Linked DNA regions of Homo sapiens: region 1 is linked to region 2. The links are contacts of gene promoters, found by promoter capture Hi-C in blood cells and fetal thymus (Javierre and others, 2016). All regions are on one chromosome and are shown on one strand. Each heading gives the region's core, a stretch centred on a gene start or on the middle of the fragment in contact. The rest is flanking DNA. Distances are from core to core; before and after follow the strand shown. Region 1 holds the start of HMX2 (H6 family homeobox 2). Region 2 holds the start of FAM53B (family with sequence similarity 53 member B).

Evidence for each region. The method cuts DNA at HindIII sites, captures the fragments that hold promoters and counts their contacts. A CHiCAGO score of 5 or more calls a contact.
Region 1: a contact is called between a fragment that was not itself captured here and the fragment with the promoter of FAM53B in region 2, in 1 of 17 cell types (total B cells). The highest score is 5.8, in total B cells.

The regions. Positions count from the first base shown.
Region 1 is chr10:123,141,920-123,148,772 of GRCh38, forward strand. It overlaps HMX2 (H6 family homeobox 2), which reads left to right and starts at 6,217. Exons shown (of 2, transcript NM_005519.2): 1 at 6,217-6,727. The coding sequence starts at 6,460. RefSeq lists enhancers at 1-871, 872-1,808 and silencers at 6,087-6,406, 6,797-6,853. The HindIII fragment of the contact is 2,307 bases long and covers 2,621-4,927 here.
Region 2 is chr10:124,738,804-124,745,647 of GRCh38, forward strand. FAM53B (family with sequence similarity 53 member B) reads right to left here and starts at 5,575. Exons shown (of 5, transcript NM_014661.4): 1 at 5,210-5,575. RefSeq lists an enhancer at 2,457-2,576 and silencers at 4,454-4,533, 4,624-4,833, 5,154-5,313, 5,364-5,473, 5,494-5,543 and 1 more. The HindIII fragment of the contact is 7,750 bases long and covers 2,078-6,844 here.

The sequences.
Region 1 (6,853 bases), core at 2,524-5,023, 1.6 Mb before region 2:
CACCATTGCTAAGGCACAGACGTAATTACACACATCTTGTTCGAAGTGACCCTTTACTCCGATGGCCTTAGGCTTAGGCAAGCTGGGGAGAATCCTGGGAAAGGACTGGGCAGAGTGAGGTGGCGCTCCCACCTCTGCTGCAGGAAGCCTTAGTGAACATCCTTTGGACCGGGATGCCTCGAAGTCCCTCCTCACAAGCCACCTGGGATACACTAGCGGAGCCTGCCACCATCCCACCGCAGACCCCCTTGCTCTTGTAGGCTGGGATCCTACTCAGTGTCCGCCTCCTTACAGTGCCAGGCTCTGCCGCTCTGAGCACCCCCGAGGCCTCTGGACCCTGGGAGACCACAGAGCCAGCACGCGAACTGTTTCTGTTGGCAACACAGATGTATTTCTTTTATTTGGTAGTAAATAGAGTGGGTGTGTGTACATCAAACAACAGAAAGACAGATATAAACTGCCCCCCCACCACCGGGCGCTCATTCTGAGCCGCGACGCCCCCTCAACAGGCTCCCGGCACCGCAGAGCCAGAGGCCACGCGGTGAGAACCCCAGTGCGTGCGCTCTTCTTGTGTGAGAGGCCGGAGGTAGAGTTGGGAGAAAGAGGAGCCGGCGAAAAGGTTAGTGGGATCTGCTTTCCCTTCTGCGGCCTTCTGGGCCAGCTAGGGCCTGGGAGATGGGGACCAGGGTCGGAGGCTTGGGGGCGGGAGGGCGGTGCTGCCGGCTGCTTCCTGCAAGCGGTTTGAAGAGGCATCGCGTTGTCCGGCCGCCTGCGCAAGGGCCACGCGCTGCTGCTTTCACCCCCTTGCGCCCGCGGGGCACCTGGACTCCCCTTAAGAGTCCCCGTGGGGCCTGAGCTTCTGCTGGGCGCTACGCTGCCCTCCACGATTCCATTTTGCCCCATTTACTCGGGTCGTCCACTTCCCGCGGCTCAGTGACCCAGCCAGGGGGCGTCTTCCGCTAGCGGTCCAAATGTAGACTCCGCAAAGAGGCTAAGAAGACCTGTCTACCCGGGTGCGCGCGATGGGGTCAGGGTGTAAGAACCAGGAGCCTCATAGAAACCTCTGCTTGGGGTCCAAAGCCCAGCCGGGCACTCCCAGAGGACAACATCCGCCCCCGCATGTACACGTGGCCCCGCAGGACCCAGCCGCAGGGCTCCCACGCTCGGCTCCCCGCCCTCTCGCTGTCCCCCACCCCCTAACCCGGGCTTTGAGGTGTGAGCGATCCCTTGCCTCTGGGCCTAGGACTCTGGAAGTGTGCACGGCCGTTGTGCAGGGTGGATGGTGTTGACCTTTTGACCTGAAAACAGTTGGGGGCTGGGGAGCGGAGGAAGGATGGCGGAAGAGAGGAAAGAGCCACGAGAACAACTAGGCGGGATGTACTTTTGAGCCCTGCCGGGTGTCTCCGATCGGAGTCTGGGGTTGAGATTTGGGCTGCACTTGTCCCCGGTGTGTCTCTCCGGCGGAGTACCCTGAAGGTGCACGAGGTGGGGAGCATAGGCTGAGGTGGGTAATCGGGTCCTGGATAGAAACACAACCCTCGTCCTCACTGGGGCCCATGTATGCGCCTGGGATTCCTCCCCACCCTTCCATTTCCAGGACCCCTAAGGGTATCACTCCAGCGACGGGGCGGTTCTGGAGACCCGAGGGAAGGGATAGCTGGAGACTGCAGCGCGCCTTCTCCGAGAGTCCCCTGGAGGTGCGCATGAGTTGTACTAGCGCAGATCTCTTCCTTGGCTGCTGCTCCTGGCGATGCATCTCCGGGGGAAACTTCCCAAAGTCTGAGTTGCCGGGGTTCCAAAAGGATCCCTTTGGGTTTAGGCCTGGGAGAGGTATAGAGCCAGCGAGAGAGCGCGTTGCGCCTATCACTGAGGCAGGAGCGGTGAGGTGGAGTCACCTGCTGTGCCTCACCCAAGCGCTAATGTCTTAAAGAAATATAAAGAATCCCCTTCTTTCGTGAGCTCCTTCACCGCCCTCGCCCCCGTTGGTGATGGAGTGCACGCATCAGATTTTCATCAAAGTTCTATTAAGTGAAACATAGGTTGCAGGGCACCCTTTGATTGAAACAGTTTAAATTTTAATTGTGTTTTTAATTTGACATATAGTTGCAGAAAGGAATGACACTGCGTCGCCAAGGGGCGGTCGATTTTCTTAATTTCTCCCAGAGGAATTGATGAGTCTATCAGGCCACTAGATTGGAAACCCATTAAAGCTCTCTGGTTAGGCTGTTAATTGGAACTTGATGGATGTGGGGGGGTGGGGAGGGGGGTGGAGAGTGTCGGGACTCGGCTATGCTGATCCAATCTTCATGACTTTCTGTTTTCCAATAAATTACACAATTCATTTTCCAGCAGCAGATTACATAAATTGTACACCTCTGGGGCTCTCTTTTTCAAATAGGGAGCCCTTTTCCCCAAAAGCCTATTGTGAGATGTCATTTGCACCAAAGAACGAACAGCAGAGGCCCTTGAACGAAAATCGAAACATAATCAACGTTTATACTTAGAAAATTTATTGAGATCATTTTCTCTGGTATTTCCTTATTTTAAAGTTTGGACGCGCCATATATCATAATCCACTCGCGTGGGGGCGGGGGGGCAGACTGTGTTTAATATTTATCGAAGCTTGATTCCAAGATCAAACTTGTTTATGACTTCATCTGTCATTTCGGAGGGAGCCTTCTTCTATTACCCGGCTCAGCCAGCCTATTTCCCAACTGCCGCAGAGCAGAGAGGATCAATTTTTATTAGGATCCTCGGCAAGTTTGCTCTGGGCCGCTTTAATATTGAGCAGTGGCATAATCTCGGGACCTAAACTTTAAGCGTTCTTTCAGGCTCAGAAAGTTTATCATTCCTTGGAACCTGGTTATGCCTAATTCCTAGGAGAGGGAGACAGGGGGTCGATCCCAAAGATGCAGAGGGGCCATCCTCCAAGGTGTGGGTATTAAACTGAGTAGGATTGGGCGGAGCTATCCCAAGGCTAGGGAGGTGGGCGGGGTGTGGGATAGTACTGAGTTGAAGGATTGCCACTCGTTAGGGGAGAGACATGAGGTGTCTGTGGGTGGTGGTTCCAGGAACTGAGTGTTCCTGGGAGTGAGTTTTGTAGCTACACTGGGCCCAGGAGAGGGCGTCTGGGCCTCCGTGCTCCCGGTGAAGATCCCCATATGCTAGAAAGGGGCGGCAAGGAAGGTTGTTTCTTGTCCCTCCCGTCCTTGCGGTGTGACGGCTATAGGTGCTGGAGGGGCGGGAGGTCCCTCGGGCTATCAATCGAGGGGAGCTCAGGGGAACTGCAGTCAGTCAGGCTGCAGAGCTGGGTCTCCACCACAGCCTTCCTTGCCCCAGCCCCGTGCCCACCACCATCTCTTCCCTGGTAAAGTGCACGCACTAGTAGGAGCTCAGTGAACGTTTGCTGAATGAATGTGTGAGTGTGCGCAGGCGTTTATGCAAGTGCCTTCATGCGAATTAATGCGTCCTTTGCCGGGTGTGGCAGCAGAGGAAGTGCCTCGGTGAAGATCAGACCCTCGAAGCGATTAGAGGGACGGGACAGAGGAAATACAAGGCAAGATGGATCTTTTTGACTTCCCAAACTATCCCTAGGGGAAGGAGAGATAGGGACGCAAGGCTTCATAACTTCCTTGTTTAGAGTCCGCAAGCCAGGCTTCTTGCAAGGGTCGACTCCCCAGTCTCTCACTGTTTCAGGGCCTGGGAGTTGCTTTTCCGAGGCCCACTTCGAGGTCCCCTGATCTGACAGAGATCACTCCTTGGGCTCTTGCCCCACCCATATACCCGCCCCCGCCATCCCGAGTCAGCAGGATCCTCACAGTCTTCCCCGCAGCCATCCTCCAAGCTCAATGCCTGTGTCTGCTCCTCTCTCCCTCCTCCCAAATGTGATGTATTGGCAGTGGAACAACCTTGAGCACGAGTCTTGCTTTGTCTGCCTGGGCTAGTCTCTTGTTTTCTTGAGCCTCAGTTTCCCGGCCTGTACATTGAGTGAATAGATCTGTGTCACTTGTTTGCCATCAGGATTAAAGCGAAGAATGCTGGGGAGCTTCCAGCATGTTCCCCGCACGACATATTTACAGTTCAGGAAGGTTCGACCAACTTTCCCTGCCTGCCCCCAGCTTTCTTCCCCAGCGGGGTGGCTGGCACTGCTCCCCGAGTTAGCTGGCCAGTTCCCCTCGGGGCTGCCTTGACCCTGGCTCCGGAGGCAGCGCCTAGCTCAGGATGTCTGCGAGAAGCGGATGGTTAGTGAGAATCCGACGATTCTTTCGCTGAACCTCCCGCGTACCCCCCAACAGCGCGGGAGCACGCGGGACCCGCTGCGACGTGGCCCAGGAGCCTGCGCCGCCGCGGCGCAGAGGAGAACGCACAAATTGTATTTCAGCGCCAGGTCCTTCCGGGTTAATGAGCTGACACCATGATTAAAGCTGACCATTTGTAATGTGTCTCGACCCTGCCGCTGAGCCCTGAAGAGGTTAATGCGGTGACGGAGGCCGGCACCTGCCCCTCGCTGGCCTCCCGGGCCGCTGCGCGCACCCCCTGGCCCCCGCCCCCTCGCCTGCCCCTGCCCCGGCTGCGCGGCCGACTCCTAATCAATTAGCCCATTAACGAGCCCCTCGAGGAGTTAAGTAGGGAAGAGTTCTGCCACGGGCAGGGCCGCAGTCGGTAACTCACCGCGGCTAATGATATTATAAGCGCTTTACTTAATAACCCGGGCGCGGTGCAGGCGAGGAAGGAACTGCACAGTCATGCAGTGTCTGGACATTTGTGGGGACTGATTCCAGAGTCTCCACTCACCCTTGGCTGCACTTGGGGGGCACCCTAAAGACAGGGCTTCTGGAATCTCTTGGCCAAGAGGTCTAGAGGTCACAGCTTGAGGGGACGGGGTTGCCTGAGCACTTCGGGCCTTGCCTCACTTCAGTTTCCAGGAAGCTTGTGCAGACGACTGTGGCCCCAAACCGCTTTGCTTGGCTGGGCTAATTCTAGCTCGGGTAACAGCTGATCTAGGAATTAAAGGGGCGAGAGCCAGGGCACAGAAGGGGGCTATGAGAACACAGAGGGAATCACTATTTACTGAGCACCACGGTGTGCCAGGCTCGGTGCTGGGTAGTTTGACCTCACAACAGCCTCTGCGAGGGAGGCACTGCTTCCTCCAATTTTAGGAATAAAGAAACCGAGCCTCAGAATTTCCAAATGTCTTCCCCCAAGATCACCCAGCCGAGAATTGAGTCGAGTCTGCTCAATTCTAAAACCGAGTCCTGTCACCAGTTCCTTATCTTCTTCCTGGGAGTAAGGCGTCTATTTCTGCAGCAGTTCGGAAACCTTCAAAATTTACAAAACAAAAACACAGATTCGCTTAAAACACGGGTGGGCCATGGGCTACCCGGCCAGGTTTATGGAGTACCTACTATGCGCTGCTAGTGCTTCGAGGCTTTTAATCCCTACCTGAGGCAATCCGAGAAGTTATTTTCAACTATGAGGGCAGAGAGGCTTTAATCGGCATGAGTTGTGCAAGTTCATGCAGTGTGTAAATAGTTGTGCCGGAATTTGAACCCAGATCTCTTGACTAGAGGTCTTAGGGCTTCCTCCCTCCCCCTAAAGATTCTGTAGGTCCGTAGAACCTGTGACAGGGATGAGGTCTGCAGACGGGGAAGGGGAATGTCTGCTCCCAAGGCTCCTGGCCATGCTGGAGAGGATGAGCGTCCGCCTGGAGACGCCTGCTCCTAACCCACCTCACCCCCACGCAGGGCGCCACGGTCCCAGGAGTGCCGGCTTTGCCCGCCCACTGGGGCTAGAAGGGGTGGAGGGCTGGGGGAGGATGGTGGAGCAGCCTGTACAAGCCCCTGGGAGGCGCGGAGACCCGTCGCCTGCGGAGGCGTCGAGCCACTCCAGCTCCGAGTCCCGCACCGCCCCTGCCTCTGGAGAGAAGGGTCCAAGGGGTCCAAGGAGTCGGAGTTGCCGCAGCCGCCAGGAACCCGGGCTAGAATCTGCAGCTGCTTTCAGCCCTGGCTGCCCCTGGTTAGACGCCGCTGATGCCCGCCAGGCCCTCGGCGCGCTCTGGGGGCGCACCGGTGCTGTGTGCCTGGCCGGAGCGTTTTGAAATTTTCCGGGGCCGCTCGGCGGCGCTGCGATTGGCCGCGTTCGGGTAACCTCTATGCAAATGAGGCCGCGCCGCCTCCGCGCCGCCGGAGACCCGGCGAGTTGGCGGGCGAGGAAGGGGCATTTGCACCGGGGCTGGGCGGGCGCACCCAGAGCCAGGCGGGCAGGAACCCCTGCGCAGCCATCCGGTGCCTGCATGTCCCTGGCGCGGAAGGGACGCCTCACCAGCCTCGGCGCCCCCTCCCCCTAGATTTCCTCCCCGCCCCTCCCCACTGCCTGCCTGCTGCACCACCTTCCACCCAGATCACCCAGATCGTCTCTAAAGGGAGTTCTTGGTTTCCTTCGATTTCTTATGAACCCAGGATGGGCAGCAAAGAAGATGCGGGCAAGGGGTGTCCGGCGGCCGGTGGCGTCTCCAGCTTCACCATCCAGTCCATCCTGGGCGGGGGCCCCTCGGAGGCACCGCGGGAGCCCGTCGGCTGGCCAGCCAGGAAGCGCAGCCTGTCCGTGTCCTCGGAGGAGGAGGAGCCGGACGACGGCTGGAAGGCGCCCGCCTGCTTCTGCCCAGACCAGCACGGCCCTAAGGAGCAGGGCCCCAAGCACCATCCCCCCATCCCTTTTCCTTGCCTGGGTAAGGATCGCACGTCGCCAGTGTGGCAGCGAGCGAGCGCGAGGGGAGGGAGGCTGAGCGCCCCGCCAAGACTCCCGCGCCGGGCCCCCTCTGGCCAGAGCTGCGGCAGCCGGGGGTTCGGGACCG
Region 2 (6,844 bases), core at 4,325-6,824:
AAAAAAAAGTTGGAAACACTTTTAAGAATCTCTCTGAATGGAAAATGGAATCTGAATAAATGGTGGTGTTTCCAGTGGGCTGCCAGGTTTACTTCCTGTTTCCCCCAGAAGGTCACTGGAAATGTTTTCTTGTGAATCTGCCTTTTCTGAGATTGAAGCAAAACATCTCAGCCTCCCAAACTATGGCACTCACTGCCTTTGGTCCTACAGTACATACAGATTCCAATCACTCCAAAAAACAAAAAAAAAAAAACAAAAAACAAAAAAACACACAGCCATAGCAGAGGGGAGAGGAGGGGAAAAGGCAGTTAAAAGTTCTAGGTTTCTCTGTGGTGTTAACAAGACTAAACAAAATTTCTGCTTTGAGATAAAACAGAACCCAGTGCCTCTATCATATGAACACACAGCAGGGCATATGGAAAGCAACCAGGCTCTGAAGGAATAGAGCTCCTTCCTGGCTTTCTGCCTTCCGGCTATGTGGCCTTGGGCCAGTTACTTGGCCTCTCTGAGCCTCAGCTGTAACTGCAGGTTTGCTTTGAGAATTAGAGAGTGTATACAAAGCCCAGGGCCCAGGGTGGGCCTTCAACAACCAGTGGGTGCTGCCATTATTCTTTGAACAATCTGCACCCATTTCAGCTAAATCCTTGGGAATCATATTATACTAGCGCAGGGGAAGAATCTGTTTCTTTGTTTAACAAGAGAACAAAAAGAGTGAGTGGAGAAGTCAGGAGTTAGCCTGCCACTGCGTTCTGAGGTCAAATGGGCTGTTTACGAACATGATTTGCTTTCACCCTCCTGAGACTGGCACCGTGAAAAAAGTCCTTCCCGAGACTTACAGATGCCCAAGAGGCAATGTGGTCTCCATGATAGTCCAGCGTGGTCTGGCCAAGCTGTCCCCCATCCCCCATGCAAAAGCCAGCTTCCCCGTGCAGCCCCCACAGCAGGAGAGACGGAGAACCATTAAAGCGGGGGTGCCTGTCACACTCCTCTGTAACCCCTGACGTGATGTGAAATTCTACAAGGTAGACCCTTTGAAATGCAAAATCTTCCAGAGTCCTTCAAACGTGTTTTTATTTTCTCGGGTTCCTAAGGCTGCTTTCAGATCCACCCATCAGCATTTCCCCCTCTCAATCAACCCACATTTAACAAAAAAACAAACAAACAAAAAAAACGACAAGAAAAACCCAAGGACGTCTCTATTTTTCAGAAAAGCTCAAGTATCTCCAATCACTGTGAGGGGAAAGAAAATAAAATCTTCAGCTCCAGCCTCCTCGCATCACTCCAAGACACCCAGAAGCCAAGTTTCCTCTGGAAGATTTCCTCCCATCCTAGCCAGCACAGCACTCTGTTGCTCAGGATCTCAGAGAACTTTCTTAGATAAGAATCCGAGTTCTCCCTGACCTAAGTTCGGTGAGGTTAAGACAGGCACCACCAAAACCACAACCCGCAATACACGAAGCCCAAATCTTGCCCCAAAACGCTGTGCACAGGAGGTTTGGATTAAGCATCAAAGAAGTTACCTTAAAACAAAGTTGTTTGGCAAAGAAAAATACTTCACTGTAAGAAGAACCCTAGGGAACGGTAAATTGCTTTTGAATATGGACTTTTCAGTGGCGCAGTCATTAATCATGTTAATGTAAACTGCGCTACAACAAAAATTTTCTAAGCAAGTCTCAGGGTACATCAGCATATCTAAGCCTCTGGGTTTGTTTCCAAAGTTCACATCCAGGCAGGCAATGAAACTGCTGTTAATGGGGTCAGCTATTACAGTGCCGTCCCCAACCTTGAGCCATAATAAAGGTGACTCAGCCATCCAGAAAAAACCCTCAAACTTAGGCAGGAAACAAACAAATTAATCAGAGAAAGAGAGTCAATGATTTTTGGAAAGTGTATCCGTTGGACAAGTTTAAACAGAAACTCTCCCTGGATGATCAGACTGACATTTCAGAAAGGAGTTGAGGGAGAACAATCAACACTCCTCCCAGCACCCAAGTCCCCTGGCCAGACCCTGTTTTGTGGCGTGGAGGGGAGGGTAGCAGCCGGACGAGGCAAGGAGGAGGAGAGTCCAGCAGAGCTAAGCTTCGCTGAGCCCCGCCAGCTCCGGCCATGTGCTTTGTGTTGGCAACGAACCGGTTCTTTCAAAAGAGGAAGAGTCTGACAAAAAGGACAGCTGCAGCAAAGCAGAAGCTGAGGGTAAAAACCTCTCCAAAGCCCTGAGCTCGGGATTCTCCCCTAAAGTTAAATCAAAACACCACTGGGGTTTGCAAGGACTAGTTCATCTATTAGTCTTCCCCTTGCTGGATCAATTAAAGAGAGTCCCTCCACATCTGGTTTCCATCGAAAACCGAAACTTGTATTATCAGCATATTACATAACAAATTATGCCTGCAGGTTTCTTTTATTACACATCAGAGAGGTGTGCGTGGTGGTGGTAATGATGGGGGTTGTGCCGATCTGAGTATTTGCTTATTTCAGTCTTTTTATTTAAGGACAAGAACAGAAGAGTTTTCCATACAATGCGCAATTTAACTGCAGAAAGTCACGCTGCCCAAATAAAACATCAACTGAACAATCTGAAGGTGGGCCCAGAACTCAGTCTTCAGGGCCCAAGGCATCGAGCGGTGGGTGAGAAGAGTGTGCTTTTTAAAAGAGCTCCGCAGCGTCCCCTGCTGCCAGCTCCTAATATTTAAACACAGCTCTCTCCTCTCTGGCCTCCAAAAGGGGAGGAGAGCAGGCTGGCCCTTCCTGAGCTTCAATCAAGGGTCAGGCGCCTGCTCACTGGACCCGCTTAAAGGAACCCAAGCCCACTAGGCTTCTGTAGAGAGGATGGAGAGGCTAGCGGGGCAGTGAGAGAATATATAAGGGGAAAGAGAAAGACTAAAAGATGGAAACAGAAAGAGCCCAGGAAATAATACCAGGACTTCCCATAAAATGTCAATTAAGCGTAACCACCACGGTGACAATAAGGTATCATAAAGCTCTTTCCAAAAGAACTTTGCGTACTTTCAAAATGCTATGTGCAACATACCCCACGTTGAAAAGAGAAGAGGGAAACTGATTTAAAACATTATGAACCAAGACAGTGGAATGCTCTCTACTTTGTCCTGAGAAGACTGGAACATTCAAGTCCACTTCTGCAGCAGTGAGGTTGCTAGTTTCTATTTAAAAACTTGTCTTTGATATCAAAATGACTGCACATGAATCTCACCTTCTCAGAAGAAAATAGGAAGTCGTTGGGCAACATTATTTGAATTTAAATCGCCTCGTTCTCTGAAGGAACGTTTGGAAGAAAAAAATACAGGCCTTCCCCACGCCTCTCCTTAGCTTTTTAACCTGAAAAAGCGCCTGGAAGCTGGATCGGCAGACTCCCAGGTCGCATGATGGGTGACAGCCAAGTGCAGACACAGAGTCAAGGGCTACCAATCCTGAGCCAAACCTTCTCCCACTGAATGGGACTATCAACTGGGACAAGTAGCTGTTTCTGTAGTCCACAGCTAGAGGCGGGGGAGGGGACCCTGTAGACCTGCAATTCAATATCAAAACTGTAACTGACACAAGTTACTCTTAAATAGATAAATTAAAATGAAACAAAAACCTGGCCTAATAAGGAACAGTGAGTTTCACCTGGTCGGCTGACTCCATTCCTTCCCAAGTCCTCAAACCAGGTGGCATCTTTTAAACGAGTCCAGGATCTGGAGCAAGGAGGAATCTCCCTGCCAGCCGGTGGGGACTGCTGGGAACACATATGCTAGCATGTCATTTGGAAGTCTGCTAATATGTTGTAAGCAGCACAAGACGCTTGCCTGGCTTCCCAGGCCAATAAACAATGCCATTCCAACTCCTGCAGCAGTCAATAGGAAACAGTCCCTTTTCTCCACCATCCAACAATTGAACAAACATTTGTTCCTGTTGAACAACCGTCAGCCTGGCTCCATCTGCACCCGCTCCTGCAAGGCGAGCGCGGCGGCGAAGGCGACGGCACAAATGCCCACCCCAGGATCCCAGACCCGGAATGCAAGCCATTCCGGGGGCCACTTTCCTAACACCACCGAGTCCGGAGATTGTACCGTATGGAAGACTCGGAGTGTGGCCTATAGGAGGCAGAATCCCATTCATCAAACGCTGCAAAGAGCTTTTCTTTGTTCACCATCGTCCTAAGTACAGTACGTGTTAATGAGCCCGGGCGGTCAGATGGAAGGAGCTCGGCTTCAGGGGGCGTCCGAACGCGAGGGACCCGGGCAAACCTGTCCGCGCGGTTCGTCGCTGCTGCGGCGCCCCGGCCCGTACTACAAGCATTGTTCCCCAAGTCCGAAAATGGGGGTGGAGAGCTGGGGGCTGGGGGACAAGGTGGGGGGGCGGGGGGAGCGAGAACACACTTGGGACAACACAAACCGCAAACCCTCCCCGGATTCTGGGTGTCCTCGTTTCTTTCGTCTCTGCCCCAAGAGAAACCCTGAGCGGGGAACCTGACTCCCACGGGCTTGCAAAATCCAAGACTAGCAAAAATGTGACTCGACCAGTGTGCCTGTGCCGGACGGCCCTTCTCGCCATGTGCAAAAGCCACGCCGGCGCGGACGCCCCCACTCCGCAAGCCCCAGCGGTGGCCTCCCCGCGGGCTTCCCCCGCCCGGGACAGAATGCCCCCTCACCCCCATCCTGACCGCCCCGGACAGTCCAGCAGCAGCGGAGCCCGCCGCCTCGCTCCCGCACCCCGGGGGTGGCGGGTGCAAACTTCCGCGAACAAAAGAGTTGTCTGCAAACGATGCGGGAACTTCGGGGCGAATGGGGCCGCCCGGCTCCCGAGACTCCGCGCCTCCTCCGCAGCGGCTAGTCAGGGCTCAAGTTGAGACGCGGAGAGGACACCCCCGGGCGCAGCAGTCCCCGCGCCCGCCCGCCCTGGCCTGGGGAGCGCAGACTTTTCCGCCGCAGCCAGGCTTGTTCTTCCCCATGCCTGTGCTCTGACAAGTCTCACGCCTGCATCAGGGGCGAGACCGAGCGCCCGGAGAAACCGCCCGACCCAACCCAAAGGCGAAACAAGGCAGAAAAAAAGGAAACCAGCAACATTAGGAAAAAAGAAAAAAAAAAGGCAAGCCCATTGCGCACGCGAGCCGGGCTCCCTCCAGCCAGCGGCCGGGACGCACACGGCCCGGACCTCGCTCGGGGCCAGCCCCCCGGCCACCGCCGCCGCCGCCCGGCCCCGGGTCGCTTACTGTGCGCGGCGGGGCGCTCCGGGCGCGGACCCCGCGCCGTCACCGCCAGCGCTCGCCAAGTCGTCCGGGGTGCCCGCCGCGCGTCCGCCGCGCGCACGCTCGCCTGCCGGCGCCGAGCGCTTTGTACGAGCGACTCCCGGGGAGGAGGAAATCGACTTGTCACTTCCTGAAGTGTTTGCAACTCGTCCCTTTAACCGGCACCGGCCAGGCCGCCCGCACCCGCCGCCGCCGCGGAGCCGCCAGACCGCGGCTGCGTGAACTCGGCCCGGCGCTTAGCGGGCGGTGTCGCGGGCCCGGGCGCTAGGCGCGGCGGCGGCGTGCAGGAGGCAGGCGGCGTGCGGCGGCGGCGGCAGGCGAGTGTGCAGTGCGCGCAGCCGCCGATGGGCGGGGAGTGAGGGACTCGCGGCGCGCCGCCGGCGGGGCTAGAGGGCGTCCTGCGGGCTCAGCCGCGCGCCGCTCGCCGCGCTCGCGCCTGCGAGGCCCCGGGACGCGGGAAGTGGCCCCGGGCCTGGGCCGCGCCACCGCGGCTGCCCGGGCCCCGCGCCAGAGGCCCTACGGGCTTCTCTCCCCGCCCCCAGCACGAGCCGGGATGAAAACGCTGGGCCGCATAGGCTTCAGGCGTCCAGCTTCCGGGTTGTTAGATGCCGAGGTTCAAAAGAAACGATCACTTCAGTGGCGTGCAGGACAGCGGGCGGGTGGGGTCGGGGAGGGGGGACCTTAAAGTGTTGTCACACTTTGGGAAAATAAAGCGCAAATTTCCTAACTCGGGGCGCTGTGACTGTGTACTTCAGAAGCCACATCCAAAATACATGCAACTGGCGAAGGAAGGATTTGTGGTTGCTAAGCAGAGGCAGAGCATGTTTAGTTCTGTAACTTAGGATGTTGACTTAAGTTCAGGAATGTAACCCTGATAGAATAAGCAGAGTATTTTCATTGTGCTGCTCACCTGGGGGAGGGGGATTGTTTTCCTTGTGAAGCCCTAGATTTCCCATTACTCCTTCCTACTGGTGTATGTTATTTTATTGACCTTGTATCCAAAAAGCGATTTTTAAAGAGAAGTTTTTTTAAAACTCCCTATGCCTGTTTTGTGTTCTCCTTTGCCAAAAAAACAAAACACCTCATTACTTTACATGGATTGTGTCTGCGCCATTTGAATGGTTCTATTCATAAATAAGGAAACTTTTTCTGTTGCTTCTAGGAACATTTAATTGGTTTTAATCCAATGTTTCAATCCCAGTATCAAACATAAATGAACAATTAACTTCTTGAGCTTTGTGTGCTTGGGAAACTATTATATTTCATGGCTATTGCTGAAATATTTCAGAATATCATCACACCGGACCCATTCTTTTCAGAAAAGCATGAACTGACATCTCCTTTCACACTACAGCTCGCTCCACTGAGTTCTGCTGCATGATTAGAATGGACAGCAATCAGTGGAAAGGATATGAGTCTATTCATTTCAAGTTACATGATGTGGGATAGAGTCAGTTCATCCTAGAAAGCCAAAATGAGCTAACATACAGAATACAGCATACTAAGATATTGATATCCTTACCCATATACGTTGCTTTTTAAAAATGCATTAAGGACCAATCTTGAAAGGAACAAGATCCAAGAACCGATGGTGAACAA